Linked DNA regions of Homo sapiens: all the other regions are linked to region 4. Evidence: promoter capture Hi-C in 16 types of primary human blood cells and fetal thymus (Javierre and others, 2016). All regions are on one chromosome and are shown on one strand. Each heading gives the region's core, a stretch centred on a gene start or on the middle of the fragment in contact. The rest is flanking DNA. Distances are from core to core; before and after follow the strand shown.

Evidence for each region. Contacts are between HindIII fragments. The CHiCAGO score rates a contact against its expected background, and 5 or more counts as called.
Region 1: a fragment that was not itself captured here is called in contact with the fragment with the promoter of CISH in region 4 in 16 of 17 cell types (total CD8 T cells, megakaryocytes, total B cells and 13 more); the score reaches 14.1 in total CD8 T cells.
Region 2: a contact is called between a fragment that was not itself captured here and the fragment with the promoter of CISH in region 4, in 12 of 17 cell types (naive CD4 T cells, naive CD8 T cells, total B cells and 9 more). The highest score is 10.6, in naive CD4 T cells.
Region 3: a contact is called between a fragment that was not itself captured here and the fragment with the promoter of CISH in region 4, in 3 of 17 cell types (total CD8 T cells, naive CD8 T cells and megakaryocytes). The highest score is 6.5, in total CD8 T cells.
Region 5: a fragment that was not itself captured here is called in contact with the fragment with the promoter of CISH in region 4 in 2 of 17 cell types (naive B cells and total B cells); the score reaches 7.0 in naive B cells.
Region 6: a contact is called between a fragment that was not itself captured here and the fragment with the promoter of CISH in region 4, in 1 of 17 cell types (naive CD4 T cells). The highest score is 5.5, in naive CD4 T cells.
Region 7: a fragment that was not itself captured here is called in contact with the fragment with the promoter of CISH in region 4 in 2 of 17 cell types (endothelial precursors and naive B cells); the score reaches 6.7 in endothelial precursors.

The regions. Positions count from the first base shown.
Region 1 is chr3:51,391,923-51,395,545 of GRCh38, reverse strand. It overlaps RBM15B (RNA binding motif protein 15B), which reads right to left. Exons shown (of 1, transcript NM_013286.5): 1 at 1-3,623. The coding sequence ends at 1,474. Among named protein-coding and RNA genes, the nearest start is that of RBM15B, 2.4 kb to the right of the region's middle. RefSeq lists enhancers at 1,739-2,246, 2,247-2,752. The HindIII fragment of the contact is 862 bases long and covers 962-1,823 here.
Region 2 is chr3:51,428,109-51,431,399 of GRCh38, reverse strand. It overlaps DCAF1 (DDB1 and CUL4 associated factor 1), which reads left to right. Exons shown (of 25, transcript NM_001387579.1): 11 at 1,188-1,367; 12 at 1,930-2,139. Among named protein-coding and RNA genes, the nearest start is that of RBM15B, 38 kb to the right of the region's middle. The HindIII fragment of the contact is 709 bases long and covers 1,678-2,386 here.
Region 3 is chr3:51,409,948-51,413,801 of GRCh38, reverse strand. It overlaps DCAF1 (DDB1 and CUL4 associated factor 1), which reads left to right. Exons shown (of 25, transcript NM_001387579.1): 21 at 416-520; 22 at 736-809; 23 at 1,322-1,423. Among named protein-coding and RNA genes, the nearest start is that of RBM15B, 21 kb to the right of the region's middle. The HindIII fragment of the contact is 436 bases long and covers 1,217-1,652 here.
Region 4 is chr3:50,610,387-50,613,881 of GRCh38, reverse strand. It overlaps CISH (cytokine inducible SH2 containing protein), which reads left to right and starts at 2,108. Exons shown (of 3, transcript NM_145071.4): 1 at 2,108-2,251. The coding sequence starts at 2,232. It also overlaps a transcript of MAPKAPK3 not described here. RefSeq lists enhancers at 1,590-1,679, 2,589-3,149 and a silencer at 1,760-2,239. The HindIII fragment of the contact is 4,554 bases long and covers 1-3,495 here.
Region 5 is chr3:51,538,430-51,542,282 of GRCh38, reverse strand. RAD54L2 (RAD54 like 2) reads right to left here and starts at 3,564. Exons shown (of 23, transcript NM_015106.4): 1 at 3,368-3,564; 2 at 633-694. RefSeq lists enhancers at 2,588-2,677, 3,496-3,790 and a silencer at 3,208-3,607. The HindIII fragment of the contact is 567 bases long and covers 1,558-2,124 here.
Region 6 is chr3:51,449,896-51,453,561 of GRCh38, reverse strand. The region is part of intron 6 of DCAF1 (DDB1 and CUL4 associated factor 1); the gene reads left to right. Among named protein-coding and RNA genes, the nearest start is that of DCAF1, 48 kb to the left of the region's middle. The HindIII fragment of the contact is 782 bases long and covers 995-1,776 here.
Region 7 is chr3:51,351,208-51,354,535 of GRCh38, reverse strand. The region is part of intron 40 of DOCK3 (dedicator of cytokinesis 3); the gene reads right to left. Among named protein-coding and RNA genes, the nearest start is that of MANF, 32 kb to the left of the region's middle. The HindIII fragment of the contact is 3,287 bases long and covers 1-3,168 here.

The sequences.
Region 1 (3,623 bases), core at 143-2,642, 780 kb before region 4:
AGGTACCAGACACGCTGAAGAATGGCATTTGGGGTGTTCCATGGTGACAAAACTGTGTGCTCTGGTTTTCCTCCCTGGCCCACACTGTCCGCAGTACCTTCCTTACTTACTTGAGACAGGGAAGAAGACGGAATCTCACCCTTCTTCCCAGCTAGAGGGTACCTCCGCATCCCTTTCCTCCCCAACTGGCTTGAGTGGCTTCAAGCTCTAGCACTGCCTAACAAACAAACAAACACCTCAGTGACTTGTGATTTCCCCCCAGAAAAATATCTATTAATTATTTCCCAATGGTCTCCACCTCGGCATCAGGGCACAAGGTGTAGGCACATGCTCTGATCTTGCACCTAGGAAACCGTCATTATCAAGGGCATCCCCTAGTCCACTGTGCTCCCCGGTAAGTACTTCAGTCTAGAGGTTCAGTATCCCCCCACAAATCTCTAGGTATGACTGGACACGGGCCTGCTCTATTACCCATCACCCCTGAACGACCAGAGAAAGCCAAAAATCACAAACAACTAGGCAAAGTTCATGAGTAAATCCAAGGAAGGCTGCCTCCAACCCTCCATTCCAGTATTTGGACTCCCGGGCCCCTGGGAACCTGAGGCAACTCTGTCTCCCAACACTGGCTATCCCTGGGCTGAGTGAGGCTAGAAAGTAGGCCGAACCAGGAGCCTGGACAGATCAGGGGCCCCGAGACCCCCTGGCATCAACAGTGCACAGCTTCTCCTTGTACAAGACTACACAGCTGCTGAAGGCTACCTGCTGCCAAACATGCTGAGTGGGCACTCTGTCCCAAACAAACAGCCACAGCTCAAACTGATGATGATGGACACACACACGGTTTAAGGCAGAAAAAACCATCAGTAGCTGCTGACCACAGGCCTTGCGCTCACCCCATCCCTTCCTTTGCATGGGCTCTACTCAGGCTTGTGTGGCAGCGTCCACAGCCCAAACTGAAGCTTGCCTGCTGTCAGCCAAGATAAAAATGAGTGTAAGTAGAGTCCAGACTGAGCCTGAAGAATTGAGAGGCCGAGAGTGACCCATGCAGCAGTGGTGCTGGAAGGATGACGTAGGGCATTCGTGTACATGCACTAGGGATGTCTTCGATTCTTTTAGCTTGATTGATTAAACCAGGACTCTGAACAGGTTTAAAAATCCATCCTCTGTCAAAGGTTTTACTGACAACTTTCCATACAGTTGGTCAAAAAATAAAAAAATACAGAACCACAGCAGACAGTATCTTGTACACTAGAAATCAACATAACCGGATTCCCTTCTCATCGTTTAAAAAAAAAAATCCCCCAAAATCTAAGAACTTAGTTTTGGTGGTGGACAGGACTTTGATCCCCACCCAAATGAACCAAAATAACCCAGGAGATAATTCAAACCAAAGTGGTAGGGTAGAGAGGGGATCAGATTTTAAAATAACTGCTTTTGTGACACAAACATGACGCTGGGAAAGACAGGCTTGGGCTAGGCAGTGTCTCTGACGATGACTATCACCATGTGTTCTTCTTCTAGCTTGCCCAATGTCCTTAGTGCTGACTGGAGGTACTGCTGGGAAAAGTCGCAGGGTGGGAAGGCGTAGAGCATGCCTGTGCCGTCTCTGCCCTTGGACCCCCCCACTGGCAAGCTGATCACCCCTGCGGCCTGCTTCTGTTTCAAGTAGGAGACCAGGTTCCTGAGAAGCCGCCTCTGCAGACCGGGCTCTACTGTGGGCATCCCCTCAGTGCCAAGCCCACTGGGGGTTGCCTGGGTGGCTAAGAGGACCGCATAGCCGTTGGGGCTCCCCTGCTTGATGCGTCGTGTGACCTCGTCAAGCTTGGGCTGGTCCAGTCGAAGGCGCTGGGCGATCTTCAGCTGGGTCAGCTTGCTCCCAGAAGTGTGGTCTTTGAGGAGACTGCTGATCACCCCCTGGTCCCCCTCTAGGATATGCATAGACGTGGGGAAGCAGCTGTTTTTCAACACCAGAAGCCCATTCCAACCCAGCTGTAGTGTCTGAGCGTACTCTGAAAGATTCTTCAGCTTTTTGGTCTCGTGTTTTGGCTCTTCCAGAGGCTTGGGCTCGGCCTCTGTGGTCCGGTGATTGCGCTCGCTGTCTCTTGCCTTCTTCCCGTGGGAAGAGTCTGCAGCCTCGTGGTGGTGGTGGTGGTGGCCCCGTTCCTCAGCCCCATGTCTGCTGTTGCTGAGGGAGTTGCTGCTGGACTCCTTGGTCCCTTCACTGGAGTGGTTCTCCTTGCGGCTGCGCTCAGGGGTGCGGTCGGAGCCCCGCTCTGACTGCTGCCCACTGCCCTTGGTCCTACTCCGTTCCTCATATGGTGAATGGGTTGTCCTCCCACGGTCACTGGAAAGGCTTCTCCGTTTCCGCCTCTCTTCCCAGGGCTTGGGCAAACCACGGTCTCCATCTGCCCCCCAACGCTCACCACTCCGGCTGCGCACTGAGCGACTGTAGCCCTCAAGGCTGTTTCGGCGGTCAGAGCTTTTACTGGGGCTGGTCCAGTCCCCTTCCAAAAAAGTCCGGTCTCGGTCTGAGTACAGAAGGTGTGGGGGCGTCCTGTCCCGCACCAGGTCGGCGTCCAGGTTGCGGTGCCGGGTGTATCCATCTGTGAGCAGCTCATAATGCACAGGGAGTGGCGAGGGCTGGTACTGCTGGGGGTACCGAGTCTCCTCTGCTTTGGCAAAATCCACGCGGAGCCTGCGGTCTGGTCCACCCAAGGGAAAACCCCTCATTTTAGCACAGGCGGCCTGGGCTGCGTCCAAGCTCTCGTACTGAATATAGGCAAAGCTATCTCCTTTGACGTGATCAATGGTCCGAATGCTCCCAAAGCGGTCAAACTCTCGGGCCAGAGCCGCCAGTGACGTGTTAGGTCCCAGGCCACCCACCCAGAGACGAGTGGTGGGGTTGGCCTTGCCATAGCCTATCTTAATGGGGTTGCGACCAATCACTCGGCCCGACATGGCCACCTTAGCCCTATGGGCCATGTCCAGGTTCTGGAACTTGAGGAAGGCATAGGCACCGCCCTGGCCACGGGCAGGCCTCTTGATGACCACCTCCTCGATGATGCCATATTTCTCGAAGGCCCTTCGCAGCTCCACCTCAGATACGCTGTGGTCCAGGTTACCAATGAAGAGGTTGCGCGTGGCCCGCTGGTCATCCTCGGGCATCAGGTCCTCCTCACACACAGCTGGGTAGCCATAGGGGCGCCCACGGTCGTCGTACAGCCCGTAGTAGTCCAGGGCCCGCTCCCGGGACAGTCCCACGGCGGCGGCAGCAGCGGCATCCAGGGCGAAGGCTGCGGCGGCGTGACGGGCACGGGGCTCCCGCAGGGGCGGGGCAGCGACGGGGGACAGCGAGCGCTGCTTGTACTGGTAGCCTCCGTGTAGCGGGAGGTAGCCGAGCGGGTCGGCGGGCGCGGGCGGCCCTGGGGGAGGCGTGGAAGCGGCGGCGCTGCTGCTGCTACTTCGCCGACTGCTCCCGCCGCCGCCACGCAGGTACACGGGCTCTACCTTGAGCGGGCGGTCGTAGAGCAGCAGCTGCCGGGCCAGGGCGTGCTGGCGGGCCTCGCGTGCGTCCTGTGGGTGCCGGAAATTCACGTAGGCCACACGGCCCAGCTCAGGCGTGT
Region 2 (3,291 bases), core at 783-3,282, 820 kb before region 4:
CACAGGCACGTGCCACCATGCCTGGCTAATTTTTTTTTTTTTTCAGTAGAGACGGGGTTTTACCATGTTGGCTAGGCTGGTCCTGAACTCCTGACCTCAAGTGATCCACCCGCCTCAGCCTCCCAAAGTACTGGGATTACAGTCATAAGCCACCGTGCCTGGCCTTGTGATTTTTTAAAAAGTGTAAATGGGTTACACATACGTATGTGGTTTTTTGTTTTTGTTTTTGTTTTGAGGCAGGGTCTGGCTCTGTCGCCTATGCTGGAGTCCAGTGGCATGATCTTGGCTCACTGCAGCCTCGGCCTCCTGGGTTCAAACCATCCTCGCAAGTAGCTGGGACAACAAGGGCACACCACCACACCTGGCTAATTTTTGCGTGTTTTGTAGAGGCAGGGTTTTGCCATTTTGCCCAGGCTGTGGGTTATACATTTGAAAAGCGATGGGCTCCTGTGATCCCCTAGGAAAGCAAAGCTCTTGTTACTTCTATTTCTGGGACATTTTTCTAATATTCTTATTTGGTGTCTTTTCTGGTAGAGTGAAATGGGTAATTTCTTCTCGAGCTATGACATTATTTATCTTTGCTTATTAATAATATCAGTTTTAATTTGTTTTTATTTTGGTGTTTATGCAAGATAGGTAGTCTTTTGGGAGTAATAAACTAATCTATGTGTGTACATACAAAATTACTTATGGCTAAGATAGAGAAAAAAATATCAAGGAAACCTGGGGATGCTTTACAGTTTCATTTTCTGACCCATAGTAGACATCAAAATGTGTGTGAATTAACCAGAGAATGAATACCAAACTCCTAGACTTAGGATCAGAAATCTGAGCCACTTTTATCACATTTGGAGAAGTTCCTTACCTCTTCCTCTTCTTTTAAGTGAGAATCCTAATACCTGTATAATGGAGCCCTCGTGAGCATTAAATGATGTAAATATTTGTTGGCACTCAGTAAGTATAGGTTGTATTTAAATATTTATCTAAATTTAGGTCGTTTTCAGGTTTGGAATGGATCGTGTTCTAAAATTGCCTTTGTATTATTACCTAAACTTTGTACTAAGAGTGACTTGATTGGAGATGGTCATTGTATTCTGCAGATATCTATACTGGCAAATTTTCCATCCTGTTCAAGGGCTCCTTTGCCCACAATTTAAAAGCATTGTTTTATTTGTATTTTTTTGCAGGTTTGCATGCATCCCCACAATGTTCTGTCTGATGTGGTGAACTATACCCTGTGGTTAATGGAGTGTTCTCATGCTTCAGGATGCTGCCATGCTACCATGTTTTTTTCAATTTGCTTCTCATTTCGGGCCGTCTTGGAGCTCTTTGACCGCTATGATGGTCTTCGTCGTCTGGTGAACTTGGTGAGGTTCTTTCAGTGCTTTTCTCCCTAGGATTGAGGGTCCTGGTTGTCTTGGCTGCCCTTTAACGGCACACCCTTGAAGAAAGGAAGCTTCTGATTAGAGGAGTTTTGCTGCCATTCTTTTTGTGAAGTTTTTTTTTTTTCCCTTTCTTCACAAATTTCTCTTTTTCTTTAGTAGTTAGAGGACACTGTGCCGTTGTAGACTTGCCTTGGATATAGTAATCTTATAACGGGGATTGGCAGTTGATGATCTTGATCTTTGTAAAAGCAATAGTTTTATTCCTGTACATTTTTTAATATGATTAAAAGCTTGTTCATTTTTTGGTATGAGTTTAATGTTTTGCTTTCATATAGCTACTGTTAGCATGCTATATACATAGATATACATAAATATGCGTTGATATTTGTCAGTCTTGTTAAGCATAAAAGTTTACTGATACATAAGCAGAATATGTATGGAAAGTAAAAAAAGTTTACTAAAATATTTTCCCTTTTTTAAATATTTTTACTTAACTCTTCTTGCCTTTTCCCCTCTTTTGCCCCAATATTTTGCATCTTAATAGATCAGTACTTTGGAGATTCTAAATTTGGAAGATCAGGGTGCACTTCTGAGTGATGATGAAATATTTGCTAGCCGCCAAACTGGGAAACATACCTGCATGGCCTTGCGCAAATACTTTGAGGCTCACCTGGCCATTAAATTGGAACAAGTGAAGCAGTCACTTCAGAGGACTGAGGGTGGCATTCTTGTCCACCCACAACCCCCGTACAAGGTGAGAGGACCTTGCCTTGAAAGGGAAAGTTCTGTTAGCCCTCTCTGTAGCATCTCAGTCCTGAAACTCACATTCAGATCAGTGGACTCTGTGCTATGTCCATTGTTGGAGTATACTTCCCTGTATGAAGGCAGAACAATTGAAAAATGGATGTAATAGGTGAATTTCAGGGAATTATTTTGCTTCCAGTTGTAAGTTGCTGGGATTCTAGAACTAAAAGATTAACTGAAGTGTGTATAAAAAAGCTTTCTTTTTTTCTTTTTGAGATACGTCTCCCTCTGTCACCCAGGCTGGAGTGCAGTGATGTGACCACACCTCATTGCAACATTAACCTCCCAGGTTCAGGTGATCCTCCCACCTCAACCTCCTGAGTAGTTGGGGGACTATAGGCACACACCACCACACCCAGCTAATTTTTAAATTTTTTTGTGGAGATGGGGGTCTCACTATGTTGTCCTGGCTGGTCTTGGAACTCCTGGACTCAAGCAGTCCTCCCACCTCGACCTCCCAAAGTGCTAGAATTACAGGTGTGAGCCACTGTACCTGGCAAAGAGCTTTTTTGTATGAAAAGTACTAGATGATTTGCCTTCTGTGCAGAATTTCTTTTCTGAAAATGTGTTTATAACTCCACTTCACTATCATTGTGGAATTTGATATGTTTTGGGATAATGACGAGTAGCTGCATGTTTTTTAAAAAATCACCAGCAGATTTCTTGAGACCAGCCTGGGCAACAATAGTGAGACCCTGTCTTTACAAAAATTTTAAAAATTGGCTGGGCCCTGTGGTGTGCATCTGTAGTTCTAGCTACTTGGGAGGCAGAGGTGGGAGGATCATTTGAACCCAGGAGTTCAAGACTGCAGTGAGCTACGATCATATCACTGCACTCCAGTCTGGGCAGAGACTGTCTCAAAAAAAAAAAAAAAAAAAAGGGCATGGTGGTACACCTGTGTCAGCTACTTGGGAGGCTGAGATGGGAGAGTCACTCGAGTCTGGGGGTTTGAGGCCGCACGTGATCGGGCTATGGCACTCCAGTCTGGGCAACAGAGTGAGAACCAGTCTCAAGAAAAAAAAAAGTCACAAATTGAAATCAGTCACATGATGCTTCTTTCTCTTAAGCTGTAACTTATATGCACAAAGGAAACTTTTGTTAT
Region 3 (3,854 bases), core at 185-2,684, 800 kb before region 4:
GGTGACAAAAGATATGAAAATAATGTTGGTTTAGGGTGAAAGGCAGCTTACTTTGAAGATAACAAGGAAATCTTGTATGGAAAGAAATTTCATGCAGTATTTTCCAGTGTATCATTATGAACTTAAGAGCTTTTGCATTTGTCCTCTTGTGTTGTTATAAGCCTTGTAAGTACAGTAACACTTCTTGGAGGTAGATGAGAGGCTGAGGATATTATTTGTCACAATAGGTGGGATATGCAAGGAAGATGCTCTGAGAGGAGCTAACTAGATGCAGAGTAGATTTCTGTACAAGGGAATTTGTATGTAAACCTATATGCAAGTAGATTGTTTTGATTGGCCATTAACATTTTCTGCACTTGTGAAGAGGGGATGTTTGTGATTCCTAATAGTGTTTCCTCCCCCACTCCCCCTCAAGCTATGTTGCAGGCAGATGATGAAGATGACTTAATGGAAGAGAGGATGAAAAGCCCCTTTGGGTCATCCTTCCGAACATTTAATGCAACTGACTACAAACCTATAGGTAAGCAGAAAGGGACAGACATTGAACATTTTGTCGTGTTTTGGTGTTCCTTATTTAAGATCCTTCATTTTCTGGAGGCCTGTAATTTTTTATTGAAAAACAGAGAAGTTATGGAAATACTTTTGAGCAATCATCCTGAATTCCTTTAGAGGAAAAGCAGGTTTTAGGGTCACAGCAATAGTCCAATCCCAATCTTCTCACATTCTATTTTCCAGCAACCATTGATGTGAAACGGAACATCTTTGACCTGTGTACAGACACCAAAGACTGCTATCTTGCTGTCATTGAGGTAAAGGGAGCTTGCAGAGGCCCTGCTCTTTTGTTCTGATGTTTAGGATAATTTTCAAGTTGTACTACAGACATTTTGTCTGATATAAGATGTAAAGTCAATACATTCCTGAAGGTAGATTATTGATAACCTATTCATTTGATGGGGCTTGGGAGATGTACAGTACAAAGAGAAATAGTAAGAAAATCCCAATATAAGACAGCTTAGAGGATCCTGTCTCCTTTTTTTCTGGACTCACACTGTCATCCCTTTCTCAGAGGAATCTGGATCTCTCACCAGAGCAAGACTGGTTTGTTCCAAGGGTGATGGTTCCTCACCAAGTCTTTTCATTCTGTTTTTCTTCCCCTTTATGTGTCCTAGGTATAACATTTTCATAGTCAGCTCAAGAATTTCGGGTATCAGAAGCTTTAATAATTACAGGGTCAAGGTCATGGGCACCAGTCAGGGCTGAGGCGTGGATGTGGACCTTCTGAAAAGTAACTGCTCCTTATGGACTGGATGTTCTATTTCAGAATCAAGGCAGCATGGATGCCCTGAACATGGACACAGTATGCAGGCTGTATGAAGTGGGCAGGCAGCGTCTGGCAGAGGATGAGGATGAAGAGGAGGACCAGGTCAGTGGTCTTTGAGATTTCTTTCTGCTGAACAGTGCTTAATAGAGGTTATGCTCTGCTTTTTGCTGTAGGAGGTTTTAAAGGTCTACTCAACCTTTGCTACCTGTTGCCACATTCATAAGGCTTGTCATGTACCCTTGATCACTGAAACTCAGAAGAAATTTTATTATAAGATTTTAACCAGTACCTGATGATCCCGTGAATTCCATTTGCAGAGCAATTTAAAGCTTAGCAATCTCTGCTTTTTTTTTTTTTTTTTTTTTTTTTTTAGAATGGAGTTTTGCTCTTGTCGCCGAGGCTGGAAATGTCATGATCTCGGCTCACTGCAGTCTCTGCCTCCTGGGTTCAAGTGATTCTCCTGCCTCAGCCTCCCAAGTAGCTGGGATTACAGGTGCCCACCACCACGCCTGGCTATTTTTTGTGTATTTTTAGTAGAGACGGGGTTTCACCGTGTTGGCCAGGCTGGTCTCGAACCTCCTGACCTCAGATGATCTGCCCACGTCGGCCTCTCAGAGTGCGTGGAGTATAAGCATGAGCCACCGCACTCATCCTGGCAATCTCTGATTTTCATTCAGAGATTTCTTTGTGCCCCGTTCTGGCTTCAGATAAGCATCTCCCAATGTCAATAAAAAACAGAACAATCACTTTGCTGAGATGGACTGTAGAAATGGCTTAACCTTTATAAAGTTCTGGTTTATATTTTCTCAGTTTTATGGCATAGTCTATTATTAGGGTAAGAGTTGAACTTATAGGTAAGATAAGATTTTGATACTTTTGAGAAATTAAACATATATAAAATGTGGGTAGATAGTATCATGTCCCTCAGTCTTTGCATTTTGCTTTCATAGGGAATTTTAATTTGTGGTTGTATTACGCTAGGTGCTTGCCTGTGTGGTGTGTCAGTATGGGTTCTGAAGAGTTTCTCAAACTTCTGAGTTTCAGCAGATTTTTTCCAGCCTACAGGGCTCACAGCACATTCTCTTTCCAAGAGTACATTCTCCAGGGCAGATTCTTTTGTCTAATTTTCTGAGAAATATTTATTGCTGAGTGAGTACTGTAAAGTTGAAAATGAATGACTAGGATTTGACTTTGCTCTTCAGATATTAAAGCAGCTAAAAATGTTTTCTTCCCCAGTTCTTGGGTTCATTTCTGTTTCCCCCTACTATCGTATTCTTTAGTCTTGGTGCTTTGTCTCTCTTTTTTTTTTTTTTTTTTCTGAGATGGAGTTCTGCTCTTGTCACCCAGGCTGGAGTGTAATGGCACGATCTCGGCTCACTGCAACCTCCACCTCTGGGGTTCAAGCAATTCTCCTGCCTCAGCCTCCTGAGTAGCTGGGATTACAGGCACATGTCACTATGCCCAGCTAATTTTTGTATTTTTTTTAGTAGAGATGGGGTTTCACAATGTTGGCCAGGCTGGTCTGGAACTCCTGACCTCAGGTGATCCACCCGCCTCAGCCTCCCAAAGTGCTGGGATTACAGGCATGAGCCACCACGCCCAGCCAGCTTTGTCTCCTCTTTAAGGGCACAGAGGTGCTCTGGATGAGAAGCAGTGGCATCACAGGACCGGGGAAAGTACACTTCCCTCAGTTTGCATTGCCACAGCTCTCTTGCCCTCATCCTTCCCTACTTTTTGATAAATCATGCTCAATGGTTAGGGCTAATGTAATAGCTTTCTCTTAGCGTCCTTTCAAAACAGCTTGTACTTACATTTAAAATAATTCTTTAAAAGCAAGAATTTTTGAAAATGGTAATATTTGAAAATGGTAATTTTGTAAGGATGTAAGTCTAATACTAGGGCAAAGGACCCATGTTTTTCTCTAATGGGACTTAGTACTGACTAAGCAAGAGTGTTTTGTTGAGATTTAGCTATGTGTTTTACTGTTGGCCATTACAGGATATGAGCATATCATTTGTTCTGTAAATCAAATCCTTTGAATACTGCATCACCTGTACATCAAAGATGACACAGTATACCTGGATCAGATACACCTGGGTAAAAAAGCTAGAACAGAGACTCAACCTAAAATCCCCTGTGTGTGCTCTCTTGGTCTTCACTGTTTTGACTGTCTAAGCATGCATTTTATTAGAGGCCCGAGATGATTCGTGATCTGCAGAAATGGGCTTCTGAGCAGAGTGAGGAGACTCTTGTGTGGTGGGCAGCTGGTGGCCATGGTGGGATCAGAGCAGAGCCTTCCTCAGGGCCTGGTAAAGGATAATTAGGCTGTAGAGTTTGAAACAACTTCACCAAATGCTGCCAAGGATCTGCTAGTGTAGAAAGGCTTTCCTTTACTGCTTTCCAGCTATATGGGCTCTATAGGGGCCTTGGTTTCATGGGTGAGAGGAGCCAGCAGTGTCTAAAGCTCATGTGAGTTATGAGATATGGGTAGAAGGGAGAGGTTTTCCAGTGGATACTTGAAATCTTTGATTTA
Region 4 (3,495 bases), core at 859-3,358:
GGAAGTGTGTAGGCTCCTGGCTTAAACCATTACTTGCCAGCTGGGAGATCTAAGTTATATTGTAACCTCTCCATGCCTCAGTTTTCTCACCTGTAAAGAGGAGATAATATGTGGTAGTTGTGACAATGACATGAGGCTGCAAATTGCTGAGAGTGCTTGACACATAGTAAGTGTTCAGTTGAATAGTCATGGTGAGGGGGAAGAAGTATAGTTTTGGTAGAGAGCTTGGGATTTGGCCCCATAAGAGACCCAAGTTCAAAATTGTAACTCTGTTGCCTGGCAGCGGCAAAGTCCTTTTGTCTTCATAGTAATGAGACAGTGGACAGTTCCTACTGGCAAGTCAGTGGTCCACACAGGGGCCGCATATCAGGCTATCCAGGTATCCCAGCCCTCAAAGTGGGTTATAAGGTATCCATCCCCCCTACCCCCATTCCAAGAAAGTGGCTTCTGGCCAACTCAGGAGGGGGCTGGCAGAGTTGCACTCATGAAGCCCGGCTTCCCTTCAGGAAAGCTACAGAGAAGTGACTGCCCTGAAATCTGAAACTTAACGTTTTTTCCCCAGTTTCACAGGGTTTTGCTTTCAGGTTTCTTTTGCCCTCTGCCATTCTGGGCAGAGCAAACTGAGCCCTGTCTTCCCTGGATGCTATCGTTCAGGCCCTTCAACAAGGCCAGGGGTCTGTCATCCCTGCCCAGGATCTCAGAGCTAGACTCCTTTCTGGGGACCCTGGGGGCACACACTGGGAGGGGGATGGGGGTGGGGAGTGGACCCTGCAACCTCTCCAAATCCCACAGTTCTTCTGGCCCAAGGGTTTGGAGGAGATTCACAGACCCTACAGTCCTTCAAGATGCTCCATAGTGAATCCAGTGAACTGAAAAAAGGTGGAGAGGGTCCTGGTAGGAGCGTGGGCTTCTGATTCAGAGCTGGGACCAAGCTCTTACCCTGCCATTTCCTAGCATTTGTTCCCTGGGGCTGTCTTCTGTCCGCATAACGGGAGCAACACCAGTTGTAGAGGATCAAATGCAGCAAGTACTCCCTGTAGATAAGAGCGAGTGTTACTACTCTGCCCCCGCCATCCCGCCCCAACCTCTATCACCCTACTCCCAGATTATCTCCCTATGTTTTGAGTTGCAGGACTCTCTCTCAGCATTTTTTTTCTGGCGGGGGGTGGGGGTGGTACCAACCCAGAGTCCGGGCCATCTGGGGCTGTCTCTGCTTGCTTTCTCAAATCTGTAGTCTCTTCTCCCCTGACTGGCAGGGCCGGCCAGAAACCAGTGCCAGCCAAGACTGGATGGTCTGCCTGATTCGAAAAGTTGGGGCGTGCTTTCTCCTTCAACTCTTTCAAAGAAAACGTTCTTGTCTGGATCTTTCTGGCTGTGGTGACCGCCGGCTTGACCTCAGTGGACCCACTCATTTCTGGAACTGTCCTCTGCACCCCGCCCTGCCCTAAGTCCCGCTCCAGATCTCACCCCATGCCACCCAATCCGACACCCGACACACAGAGTCCTAGGGTCCAGGAGCGGCCGTCCCAACACGGGGCGCTTGCACACGCCGACAGACCTCCTTGGAGGAGCCGCTCGCAGGGAGGACAAGCCCGGGACTCCGCCCCCCGCCCTGCCACGAGTTCCACCGCGAGATAAGAGGGCCCTTCCCCAACGACGCAGAATGCCAGAAGGCAATCTGGGCGCGGGTTGCTGAGCCCGGGCCCCTCCTTAACTTCCCCGACCCGGTCTTTCCCCACTGATCTCTCCGACCTGCCCCTCTGGGTAGCTTCAGCCCCGGGTCCACGCGCTGCTATTGGCCCTCCCCGACCGCTCGGCTCCACCTTCAGCGTCGCGATTGGTCAGCTCGCGGGGCCCCGCCCCGTTTTCCTGGAAAGTTCTTGGAAATCTGTCAAAGTATTTCCTTTCACTGCTCAGGGCCCCAGACCCGGCGACGGGGCCCGCGCACCCCGCCCGGGCCCCACCGCTCAGCCCGCGGTTCTAGGAAGACGCTGCTTCCGGGAAGGGCTGGAACGCGGCAGACAAAGGATTAGGCAGCAGCTCGCCCCGCCCCGCTCGTCTGGCCCGCCCCCCTCGCCCTCGCAGGCGGTCCGCGCCACTGCCTCTCAGTCCCTGTCCTGCGCCCGCGCGCCCCGGGAGCCTACCCAGCACGCGCTCCGCGCCCACTGGTTCCCTCCAGCCGCCGCCGTCCAGCCGAGTCCCCACTCCGGAGTCGCCGCTGCCGCGGGGACATGGTCCTCTGCGTTCAGGGGTAAGCGCGGCTCTCTGCCCCCTTCCCGGCCACCACGAGGGGCGCACGGGAGAACAGGGGCTTCGTGCTAGCTGCCGGGCATTGGGAGGGCTTGACGGGCCAGAGGTGACTGAGCGCAGACGGACCTCAGGAGCAAGGCTCTGTGTGGGGCTGTGACACTCCCACTCCCCGCCCCCACACACTTACCTCAATTCCCACTGTGGATTGGGAAACCGGGGGCTGGCCGGCTAAAGGAGGAACTCACAGGGTGGGCTCAGCCTGGGTTCTCATTGGAGCAGATGGATGCTAACGGCACGGCGTCCCCCAAGATGTGGCCAACAATCCCAGATATTCTTCTGGGCCCAGAGCACTCTACGCTAGCCTGCCTGCTGCCCTGCCTGCTAGTAACCTTGGACCAGCCCCTGGCCCCCTCTGTCCTGGTGTCCCCTCTCCTGCCCCAGGCTAGCAAGTAGGCTCTTCTTGGGAAGCCAGCCGCAGATCCTTGCCTTTCCTCAGGCTGGCACCTGATGGTCTGCAACTCTCGGGAGGCCCTGGGTTTGGCCTGGTCCTGCTTGGGGTACCCCCACAATCGTCTCACAACCCTGTCTCAGCCCAGTCTGGGATCCCAATGTGAGAAGGACCTTGGCTCCTGCCTCTCATCTTCAAATTTCCCAGACTTGAGGTAAGGGACAGTGGAGAGGGGATGCTGATAAGACAGAGTCTTGACCTGAGCTGAGCATTCCTGGCCATCCACTCTGTCCTGAACCTCAGCAACCCCTTCAACCAAAGGGTCTGATGCTGGCCATGGTGATGTGACAGGAGCTCAGGAAGCTCCAAGGAGAGAGGAAGAAGGTATAAATGGGTGTTCTGCACTCAGGGAGGACTGGGTGGCTGTGCTTATCGCAACTGGCCTGGTGCCAAGTGAGGGAGGGTGGAAGGTGAGGCCAAGGAAGAGGACATGGAGGTGCTGGGAAGACTACTTCTCCCTTGCTGTCTCCAGCAAGTTCCTTCCTCCTGTCTGCATTCTGGGACTCCTGAATACCTGCCCCACCACTGCCTTCCACCCCAGGAGCCTCCCCCTGCATTCCGGGGTCCCATAGCCTCTTTCACTTTTTACCCTAGGTGAGCACCCCCTTGTAAGCTCAGGGCTACTGTTGGGTGTCAGGGAACAAAGTTTTAGACTGCTGCGCTCCAAAGCGGGCACACACATGTACCTAGAACACACCAGCCACTGTCCCCACCATGATGATGACACAGCCATGGAC
Region 5 (3,853 bases), core at 592-3,091, 930 kb before region 4:
TACTACTGACAACCAGCACTGACCACCCTCAAAGCTTGAGGCCCTCATCTCCAGTCCTCGATGCAATCTGCAAAGAAGGCTGTATTAGGCCCATTTTACAGATGGAAAAACAAAACCAAACCAAAGCTCAGAGAGGTTAACAGCTTATCAAGGGTCAAAAATTGAGCAAGAAAAAGTGGGAAGACTCCAAAAACCAAGCTCTTCCCATTGTACCAGACATTTCTTCTCTCAGACTTTTTCTAAAGAAATAGAAAACTCTAAGCCTTATTTCCAAGAGTTTCTGAAGTTGATCCATTTAACTAAGAGGTGGCCAAAAACATTTATTTAAGCAATCACCTTGCCTTTAAGGCAACAAATAAACAAGTTTTTATTTTCTTTGATCAAGTGAATAGTCCAGATGGAAAATGAGAGCTATTTTGAAGAATTCATTTATTATTTAAATACCTTGATTTTACATTTCTTCATTTATTTTTGCCCAAGATATATACACAGAGAGATAGACAGCAAAAGGCAGAATTTCATTTTAATAGATCAGAATGAAGAGTAACAAAGCAAAAAACATTCAGATTTACATTATATTTTATGCAGTAAAAATTAAGAAGCAAATGACTTTCAAACAGACTGAGCCTTACCTCAATCTTACTCCTCCTGTTCCAAGGGACAGCACTCCAAGTGATCAGCAGACACTCCCAGCCTACATACAGTGAACCAGACATAGGGGATAAGCAACGCCTTCATGCTCCCAAAACCACAGTGGGAAGGAGTGTGATGGCTTCCTGGGGAATCTGAACACATATAGTATTTGTAAATCACTGCTCGTTGAGACATACACCAAAACAAAATGTTTTACCTGTGGTTTGTCTACAGGAGTACTTAAAATTAACAGGTGTATAAAATAGTGCAAAAATAATCCCATACCAGCATGAACTCACAGTGATAGCTAAACTTTTTCCATGGAGATGTTAAGATAATTAACTGTCACCAGTCAAAATTAATACATTATAAAAACTTTATTCAATGTCTTTACTGATTAAAAGCTTGATATACCTGAATCACTTCTTTCTTCATAGACCTATAACCACCTCTAAACCAGGAACTACCACTAACAAAATGTTAAAAAATATCATCAGCATTTTTGAGGTGCCCAAAGCAGTGCCTGGCAAAATGCAATAAATGTTCGTTTATGAAAGAATGAATGGAGAAAGAGAAAGAATACTACTTTTTTTTTTTTTTTTTTTTTTTGAGTCAGAGTCTCGCTTTGTCGCTGAGGCTGGAGTGCAGTGGCACGATCTCGGCTCATTGTAACCTCTGCCTCCCAGATTCAAGTGATTCTTGTCCCTCTGCCTCCAGAGTAGCTGGGACTACAGGCACATGCCACCCCACCGGCTAATTTTTGTAGTTTTAGTAGAGACAGGGTTTCGCCATGCAGGCTCAATCTCCTGACCTCATGTGATATGCCCGCCTCGACCTCCCAAAGTGTTGGGATTACAGGCGTTAGCCACCACACCCAGCCAAGAAAGAAAGAATACCATTGAAGAAAAATAATTATTTAAAGCTTAAGGAAAAAGATAATGTTTACAATAATGAGAACTATCAGTACAACTACAAACAGAATTACCTAACATTGCACTTGAAAGTTTATACTAGACTCCAGTTAGGCTATATTTCCTACCACTCTAAACTCAGAAGGTACAATGATTCTGATACTGTTTTTGTTCATGTAGGGTTCCCTTTAAACCTCACCTACAGACAACACACCAACTTTTGCCTGAATAATACATACAGAGCTCCGGCCCACAGCTGCAGGCCTCAGAGTTGGAGTTTGCGTACTGTCTTTCAATGATATAGATTGTCACAGGGAGACAGTGTACAGGCCAAATTCATTGAAGATGGATAATACTTCTAGTGAAGACAATGTCCTGTGAGAGTAAACAAGGATGCTGAAATGAGAGTCACTAAGATTTAATAGATTCAACGAACTCACTTCATGGCAGTAAGAGAAGATGAAATTTCATGGATTTAAGGATGGAAAGACCATTTAACAACATAAATGTTAGAGTTTTCTTATCCTTCTTTAGTGTTGCACACATTAAACAATGGTACACAAATTAGTGAAAAGAAGCTTTTAAATTTAGATTTATAAGAATTGGACTGAAAACGCCTGGAACTTACATGTATGATGAAGTCTAAGTTTGTCTATCATTTCAAATAGCCACAGTGCTGAAAAGAAAGTATGAGTCACAATTCAAAAACAACGGAGGAAAGAAAAAAATGAACAGAGAAAAGCTTTGGATCCAAATACCACAAAGAAATTCCTTACTTAAAATGTTGTCAATGACAGTCACCACTCTGACTTGGAGTAAGAAAGGTCCACACTGTCCTCTACGTGGGAACAAACTCATCCAGCCCCACATAACCCTTCCAGTTGCATCCACCTCAATGTTCAGCCACCAATATAGTCAGCCACAATCCCTAGCAAGCAACAGGAATCCTAACAGATCTGAGTCACCCACTCCCACGCAGTAAGAGGTCACTCTCCATCAGGAAGCCCACTCTGCAAAGTTTCCTTGTTCATCTCCCAGGCTGCCACCACCATGACCCACATAAAGCTGATTCTCCAATCTCAGTAGCCTATCAACCCTCCTCTACACTCCCCAAACCACAACTCCCACCGGCCTCACCCTAACGACAAGACAGCTAGCACTACTCACCGTGTGCCACTACTCACTCCTGTGATAAGTTCCTTGCCTGAAAACCACTCCTCGTCAGGGTGCATCAGGGCCCCGGAGGATCCAGCTCTCTGCTTAACTCTCTTGTGCCCAGCTGAGCTCCTGCCTTTCCAGGAACTAATCACCAGTTACCTCAGGGAAGCTAAACTCTCAATGCCTCTTCTGCCCCAGCCCGACCCCAGTCTGCCAAATTCCCAGACCTCAGGAGAGGGGGTCGGGGAGACGCATCCAGATGCGCCTTAGGGATTAGACACACAGAAGCCCCTAAAATTCCAAATACTTTCCCAACCCCACACCGCGCTCTGGTCATCCTCCGGGGCGCCAGCATCCAGAGCCAAAAGCGCAGAGGGGCAACAGTTAAGTCTCCGTGTCCCTACGACTCCCTTCCCCGGCTACGAAATCCTCAAATATCAAGCCACTGAGGCCCCGGGTCGAGGCCCAAGACCCCCGCCAAGCCTCCGGCCACTGGAGTTTCCCGGGTGGGGGACCCCGTGCCCCGAAGGCCCGGGCCGCTGGGTCCATCTAGCTGCCCCGAGCCACTGCATGGCAGGGGCCCAGGCCGCGTCTCCAGTCGGTCCCCATTGTTGCGGGACCCGGCGGCCCCGGCCGGGAGCGAGGAACCGGCACCGGCGTCTCACCTCCTGCGCCGCGGCTCCGGGCCGCGCCGGACCGCGCAGGGCCGAGGGACCTCACGTTCAGCTTCGCCCGCCTAGGCAAAGTCTGCGGCGGCGGAGGCGGGGGCGGCGGCTGAGGCGGGAAGCAGCCGGCCAGGCCCGGGCGCCGCGGGCTGGCTCTGGCCAAGCGTCGGTCTCCACCGGCGGCGGCGCTCGCCAGCCTCCGCTCACGGTCCGCGCCAGAAAGCGTCCCCCTCCCGGCCCGCGCGCCCGACCGCACGGACGGGAACACGCGCCGCGGAGAGGAAAGTTCCGCTGAGAGCCGACTGAAGGCCGTTCCCCTGCGCCGGGTGTACGGCGATTCCTGCCTGGATGGGACCGTTTCTGGAATGAATGCCGCACAGAAATCCCAAGCCAGAAGCTGCCTGAGAATGGTTCTAGGGGTGGGTCCAACGGAATGGTTTTGCACTCGCCAGCCATTTAGCATCTCAATTGAGCCTCAGTTTCTCC
Region 6 (3,666 bases), core at 136-2,635, 840 kb before region 4:
CTCCTTGTCTCAAACCATTCTCCTGCCTCAGCCTCCCAAGTAGCTAGGACCATAGGCAAGTGCCACCATGCCCAGCTAATTTTTTAAAAATTTTTTTGTAGAGATGAGGTCTCCCTATGTTGCCCAGGCTGGTCTCACACTCTTGGGCTCAAGCAGTCCTCCCGCCTCAGCCTCCCAAAGTGCTGGGATTATAGGAATGAGCTACTGCACCCAGCCTGGAAGTCTTATTATAGTTAAGTGTATGACCCAAATGAAAGATCTTGATTCTTATTTAGCTTTTAAGAAAATTCATATTAACTTTTATTGCAGAATAATTGTGCCACAGAAAGTATTTTAGAGAATAACGTTGTGATTAACGTTATAATTTGCAATATCATTTATAGACTAAAATCTCCAGTTAGCAACCCGTGTGAGACTAGAAGAATCTGTCTTTGTAAAAAATTTTTAATATGGATTATTTTGAAAATCAGGATGATAAAAGCATTTATGGCAATATATTTGTATACACAAGGTTTATCCAAGATTACAGATTTTTTTTTTTTTTTTGAGACAGAGCCTCACTCTGTTGCCCAGGCTGGAGTGCAATAGTGTGATCTCGGCTCACTGCAACCTCCACCTCCTGGGTTCAAGTGATTTCTCCTGCCTCAACTTCCTGAGTAGCTGGGATTACAGGTGCCCGCCACCACGCCCGGCTAATTTTTAAAATATTTTTATTAGAGATGAGGTTTCACCACGTTGGCCAGGCTGGTCTTGAATTCCTGACCTCAGATGATTCGCCCACCTCAGCCTCCCAAAGTGCTGGGATTACAGGCATGAGCCACTGCACCCAGCCGATAACAGATGATTTAACGGGGCTTTTTGAAAATTTCCATGTTGTCCTTGTAGGAAAATCATCTCTGGTTCTTTATAGTTTCATCATTGTAGATCTAGAAAGAAGTGAGTGCCCTTTGGTGGTTAGAAACACTATTTAAGGGAAATTATGAATAATAAAGCTTTCTGCAAGAACAATTTTATCGTTTCCTAATTAATGGTTTATTGGGAGAAGTGACTTATTCCATTGTGCATTAGATTGGAAATTGTCTTGAATCCAGTGTTTAGAGAACAGATTGCAAGCCTTTTTCATATTGTGTTACTTGATTACATGATGATCTGTACTCTTCAGAAGTATCCTATGCAGCTTTTTTTAATAAATCAATATTTCTTAAAATATTTTAATTATAGCAATTAATGAGTCAGAAATCATTATTTCTCAACAAATTAGCTATTGGTGTTCCTCAGAAGTTATAATTAAGACTTATTCAGCCTGGATAACCTAAGGAGACCTCATTTACAAAGAGATGGAGTCTCTTTGTGGGTGTAGTGGTGCACACTGTGGTCTCAGCTGCTTGGGAGTCTGAGGTGGGAAGATTGCTTGGGCCCAGGAGGTGGACGCTGCAGTGAACTGTGATTGTGCCACTGCTTTCCAGCCTGGGAGACAGAGCGAGACCCTGTCTCAAAAAAGAAAAGAAAAAGACTTATTGCTCTAGGATGGTGTTTTTCAAATTTTGTGAAACATAGTAACATGTACTTTTTTTTAAACCTTGAAACCCAGTCCATACATTATATGTATGAAAAAGAAGTTTTAAAAACACTGTTTACTCTTTGTGCAATTCATTCTGATACTTTTTTACTTATTTCTTTTTTAAAATGCTGGTTCAGTGTACTAAGTTGGTTTTATTCCGCCACTGTTTTTAAAAAGTTGTTGACTTTTACTTTCAGAGATATTGAAAAAAAGCTTTACAATCTTTTTTTTTTTTTTTGAGACAGAGTTTTGCTCTTGTTGCCCAGGCTGGAGTGCAACGGCATGATCTCAGCTCACTGCAACCTCTGCCTCCCAGGTTCAAGGGAGTCTCCTGCCTCGGCCTCCCGTGTAGCTGAGATTACATGCACCTGCCACCATGCCCAGCTAATTTTTTGTATTTTTGGTAGAGATGGGGTTTCACCATGTTAGCCAGGCTGGTCTCAAACTGTTAACCTCAGGTGATCCACCCGTCTTGGCCTCCCATAGTGCTGGGATTACACCTGACCTAAAATCTATTTATTTTTATTTTTTAAATATATACGAAAAAATAGACACAGAGTCTCATTATGTTGCCCAGGCTGGTCTTGAACTCCTGAGCTCAAATGATCCTCCCTGGCTTGGTTTCCCAAGGTGCTGGCATTACAGGCATGAGCCACTGTGTCTGGCCTAAAATTTATTTTTATTTAAAATTATTTGGCTGCAGGCTGGGCAACATGGTGAGACCCCATCTGTAAATATATATATATATGCTGAGTGTGGTGTCACATGGCTGTAGTCCTGGCTAGTTGGGAGGTTGAGGCAGGAGGATTGCTTCAGCGCAGGAGTTCGAGGTTGCAGTGAGTTATGATTATGTCACTGCATTCCGGCCTGGGTGACAGAGTGAGACCTTGTCACTAAAAAAAAAAAAAAAAAAAAAAAAAAAAAAAAAAAAGAATTTCCTTTTTATATTGTTCATTGCTAGTGTATAGAAGTGCAACTGATTTTTGTATGTTGATTTTGTATCCTATAACTTTGCTGAATGTGTTACTTCACTGACAGGTTTTTTTGTGTATGGAGTCTTTAGGGTTTTACACATATAAGATCACGTCATTTGCCAACAGAGGTAATCTTACTTCTTACTCTCTAATCTGGATTCCTTTAATTTCCTTTTTTATGTCTAATTACTCTCACTAGAACTTCCAGTACTATGTTTAATAGAAGTGGCAAAAGTGGACACCTTGACCAGGCGTGGTGGCTCACGCCTGTAACCTCAGTACTTTGGGAGGCCGAGGTGGGAAGATCGCTTGTGCTGAGGAGTTCAAGACCATCCTGGAAAACATAGTGAGACCTTGTCTCTCAAAAAATAAGTGGATATCTTTTTCTTGATCTTAAGGGAAAGCCTTTCAGTCTTTCACTGTTGAGTATGATATTAGCTATGAGTTTTCATAAATGGCCTTTATTATGCTGATGTTTCCTTCTAGAATCTAGTTTATTGTTTTTTCATTACAGGGTATTGACTTGTCAACATTTTTTTGGTATCAGTTGCAGTGGTTATGTGGTATGTTGAACTGTCTTTGAATTCCTGAGATTTAGTTTATTTAGTCATGATGTATAATCCTCTTATGCTGCTGAATTCATTTTCCTAGTATTTTGTTGAGGATTTTTATAACTATAGTCATGAGTGATATATTGGTCTATAGTTTTGTTTTCTCACAGTGTCTTTAGCTTTGGTAATGCTGGCATCATAAAATGAGTTAGGAAGTGTTACCTCCCAGTCAATTTTTGGGAAGAGTTATGAGAAGGATTGGTGTTAATTCTTCTTTATTTTATTTAATTATTTAAAGAGATGGGTCTGGTTTTGTTGCTTAAGTTTGTCTCGAACTCCTAGCCTTAAGTGATCCTCCTGCCTCAGCCTCTCAAATTGTTGGGCTTACAGGCATAAGCCGCCATACCCGGCTTTAATTCTTCTTTAAATGTTTCGTAGAATTTACTAGTGAAGTCATCATGTCCTGGGTTTTTCTGTTTTGGGAAGTTTTTGATTATTGATTCAATTTCCTTACTACTTATAGGTCTATTTAGTTTTTCTGTTTCTTTATGAGTCAGTTTTGGTAGATTTGTCCATTTTA
Region 7 (3,328 bases), core at 276-2,775, 740 kb before region 4:
GTGTGAGTGGAGAAGGGCAATCTATGTGGGTACCGTGACAACCAGGGCAACAACAATCAAGACAGGAAAAGGTGGAGCTGGAAAGAAGGTGTCTGTGTAGAGAACTGGTAGAAGCAGTTGGGCAGAGGGGGCACTGCCAGCCCCTCTTGACATGTCTTCAAAGGAAGAAAGAGAGAGGCATCACAGGGCCAGCCATATGCTTCCCGGGACAGGGTTAATCACTGGGCAGGCCTTGGAATACCCTGACCCTGACTCCAATGTTACCAAGGAGTGATTGCTATGGGTGCCACCAAATAATTTTAAATGGGGGGGGGGTGGTGATCAAGTGTGTGATTCTGAAGGATCACTTTTATTAGTTGGGAGAAACAGTCTAATGTTGCCCAGTGCCCAGTAGGTATTCAGTAACTGTTTATTGCATTAGTAACCCTTTGGCAGCAAATTTCTTTGCAAACATGTCAGCAGAACAAATAAACATCATGCTAAGTACAGACTTCTTAAAACTTTATGTTATGTCACATTTACTTTTGGTTATGTCTCAGTTTTTCTCTTTGTGGACAAGGCACCCCCAACTCTGCTTGCTCTGCCTATGTCATAGCTGGTCATGAGTGGGTGGCTGGAGGAAGTTCCCCTGAAACCCACTGGTGATGCAGTCTGCCCATCCAACTGCCTAGCCAGACCCATTTCAACAAAATGGTATCAGGCACTGCCAGCCCCTCTTGGCATGTCTTCAAAGGAAGAAAGAGAGAGAGAGGCGTCACAGGGCCAGCCATATGCTTCCTGGGACAGGGTTAATCACAGGGCAGGCCTTGTAAGACCCTGATCTTCTTGAAATAGGATTTCTGTCTCATTTTTACTTCCTCTCTCACTATGGGAGAACTTGGCTAAGGCTGGGCCATGTGTCTGTATTGTTTTTTTGTTTTTTTGAGATAAGAGTCTCACTCTCTTGCCCAGGCTGGAGTGCAGTGGTGCAATCTGGGCTCACTGCAATCTATGCCTCCCGGGTTCAAGTGATTCTCCCACTTCAGCCTCTCAAGTAACTGGGATTACAGGTATCTGGCACCATGCCTGGCTAATTTTTGTATTTTTAGCAAAGATGGGGTTTCACCATGTTGGCCAGGCTGGTCTCGAGCTCCTGACCTCAGGTGATCCACCCGCCTCAGCCTTCCCAAGTGCTCGGATTACAGGCATGAGCCACTGCACCCAGACTGGGCCATGTGTCTGGATGAATCAGAATGGAAGGGATTCTGATTCTGATTAACGCTAGGAAGAAAGTTAAGGTCAGGAGGAGCAGGCTGGCCTCTCCAGTGGAACAGACCAGTAGTCAAAGGACAGAGATATTTCTACATCTTTTGCTTGATAAATAAAACTGACAAAGAAAGTACTTGTGAAGAACTAGCCTTTTCATATCATTCATATGTACAACCCTCATCAACGTCTGTTCATGGGTCAAATGAGAAATATAAATTCCCTCAAGAAGGGAGGGTTGGATGTTTTCCTGACTCTTTGCAGATTAATAGATAATCACATTTGTGAGGCGAGGCAGGCAGATGGCCCAGAGAAACCAAGCTGATAGAGCTAAAGTAATAGATGGCCTGTGCATTCAGGGATGGTAGGAGAGTAGCCTAGCCTTCTGGGGAAGGCCCAGCAGGAAGAACGCACACAGTGTTGACCTTGAGGCTGACTGTTGGTTTCATATTCACTTGGGCAAGAGCTCCAGCATCCCCACAAAAGACAGATCTGGCCCCCACTGCTTTGTACCTGATTCCCACCATGGGCAAGGCAAAGAGCTACCTCCACTGGGACTTATTATTCTGCCACAGATGAACTGAGCAGCTGAAATAAGGGAAGGTAGCATGTGGGTTGGCTGAGGAAATTTGTATGCATGAATTATACATGCATTATGCCTCTCGTTGAGATTGCATCTTGTGTGGAGATGGGAATCGATTGATGGGTGATATTTCCTAACACCTCTTGTTATTTTTCCTCCATTCCCAGGGTCTTTGAAACCACATTTGAACATTTGGACTGTTACTTGTGAGCATGATGTGGATGGCTTAGATGCAGGTTTTATGCCAGGTCCTACCTGTCAGAAAGCTCCAACAACCCTGAGACACTAATGTGTCCTGTGACATGAGCATGAAAGGGTGGGAAACAGGTTGGACTACGATGGAGCATTCCTGCTTGGCAGAACAGAAACAGGGGATACCAGGGCCTGATTCTGTAATATCCAAAATAATGATGTTTTATAGTGAAATTTCATTTTTGATGTACAAATTGTGGATCTATACAGGAAGAAGAAAATGACAAGAAAGCATAATTTGAAAAGATAAAATGAGAAAAAGGCAAGTTACAAGACCAGAATCATTAGTTTGTCAAAGGACTTTCTGGAAATGCTTTTGGTTTCTAGTTCTTGTACAATTGCTTCTACTTCTTTTGCTGACTTCCACCACTTCCATTATTCTTATATGATCTATGCTGATGGGGCTAGCAAATATGCCACTTCTAAAATGCCTGGGCTGGATGGTCACTAGAGATGAAGGAGGCCCAGTCCTCTTAAGAAAGTCTCTCCACTCATTCCTGGCTGGGCGCATTGGCTCACGCCTGTAATCCCAGCACTTTGGGAGGCCGAGGCGGGCGGATCACATAAGGTCAGGAGTTCGAGACCAGCCTGACCAACATGGAGAAACCTCGTCTCAACTAAAAAATACAAAATTAGCCAGGCATGGTGGCGCATGCCTGTAATCCCAGCCACTCGGGAGGCTGAGGTAGAAGAATCGCTTGAACCTGGGAGGTGGAGGTTGCGGTGAGCCAAGATCGTGCCATTGTACTCCAGCCTGGGCAACAAGAGTGAAACTCTGTCTCAAAAAAAAAAAAAAAAAAAAAAGTCTCTCTACTCATTCCCATTCTGCTACTAGAAACACTCCTGTGGAATAGAGTTAGAGCCTTCCTGGGGATCACAATTAGGCAGTGAGCTTGCTGTCCCTGTCATATTGCCAGTGCTCACACAGATCGTTTTTCCTTCTAGCCTAGAATGATTACTGCCCAAGAAAAGTGCAAGTTGACCTGCCTTACTTCTGCAATGTGGTTAGCCTGGACTCTGCCGCTAGCAGACTAGCTTTTTTTAAAGGAGCTATTAAGCCCGGTTGACCTTTGATGTGATAACAAGCTTGTTATTGCTCATTGGCTAACCCAATTTCTCCAAGAAGACAGGATCCCAAACATATCAAAGGGAATTTTCCCAGCTACTTGCTGAGGCTTGTGGACAGTGAACTTTAGTTAAAGATATTGGAACTGGGGGTGATCAGCGATTAGCAATTAGGTCTCAACT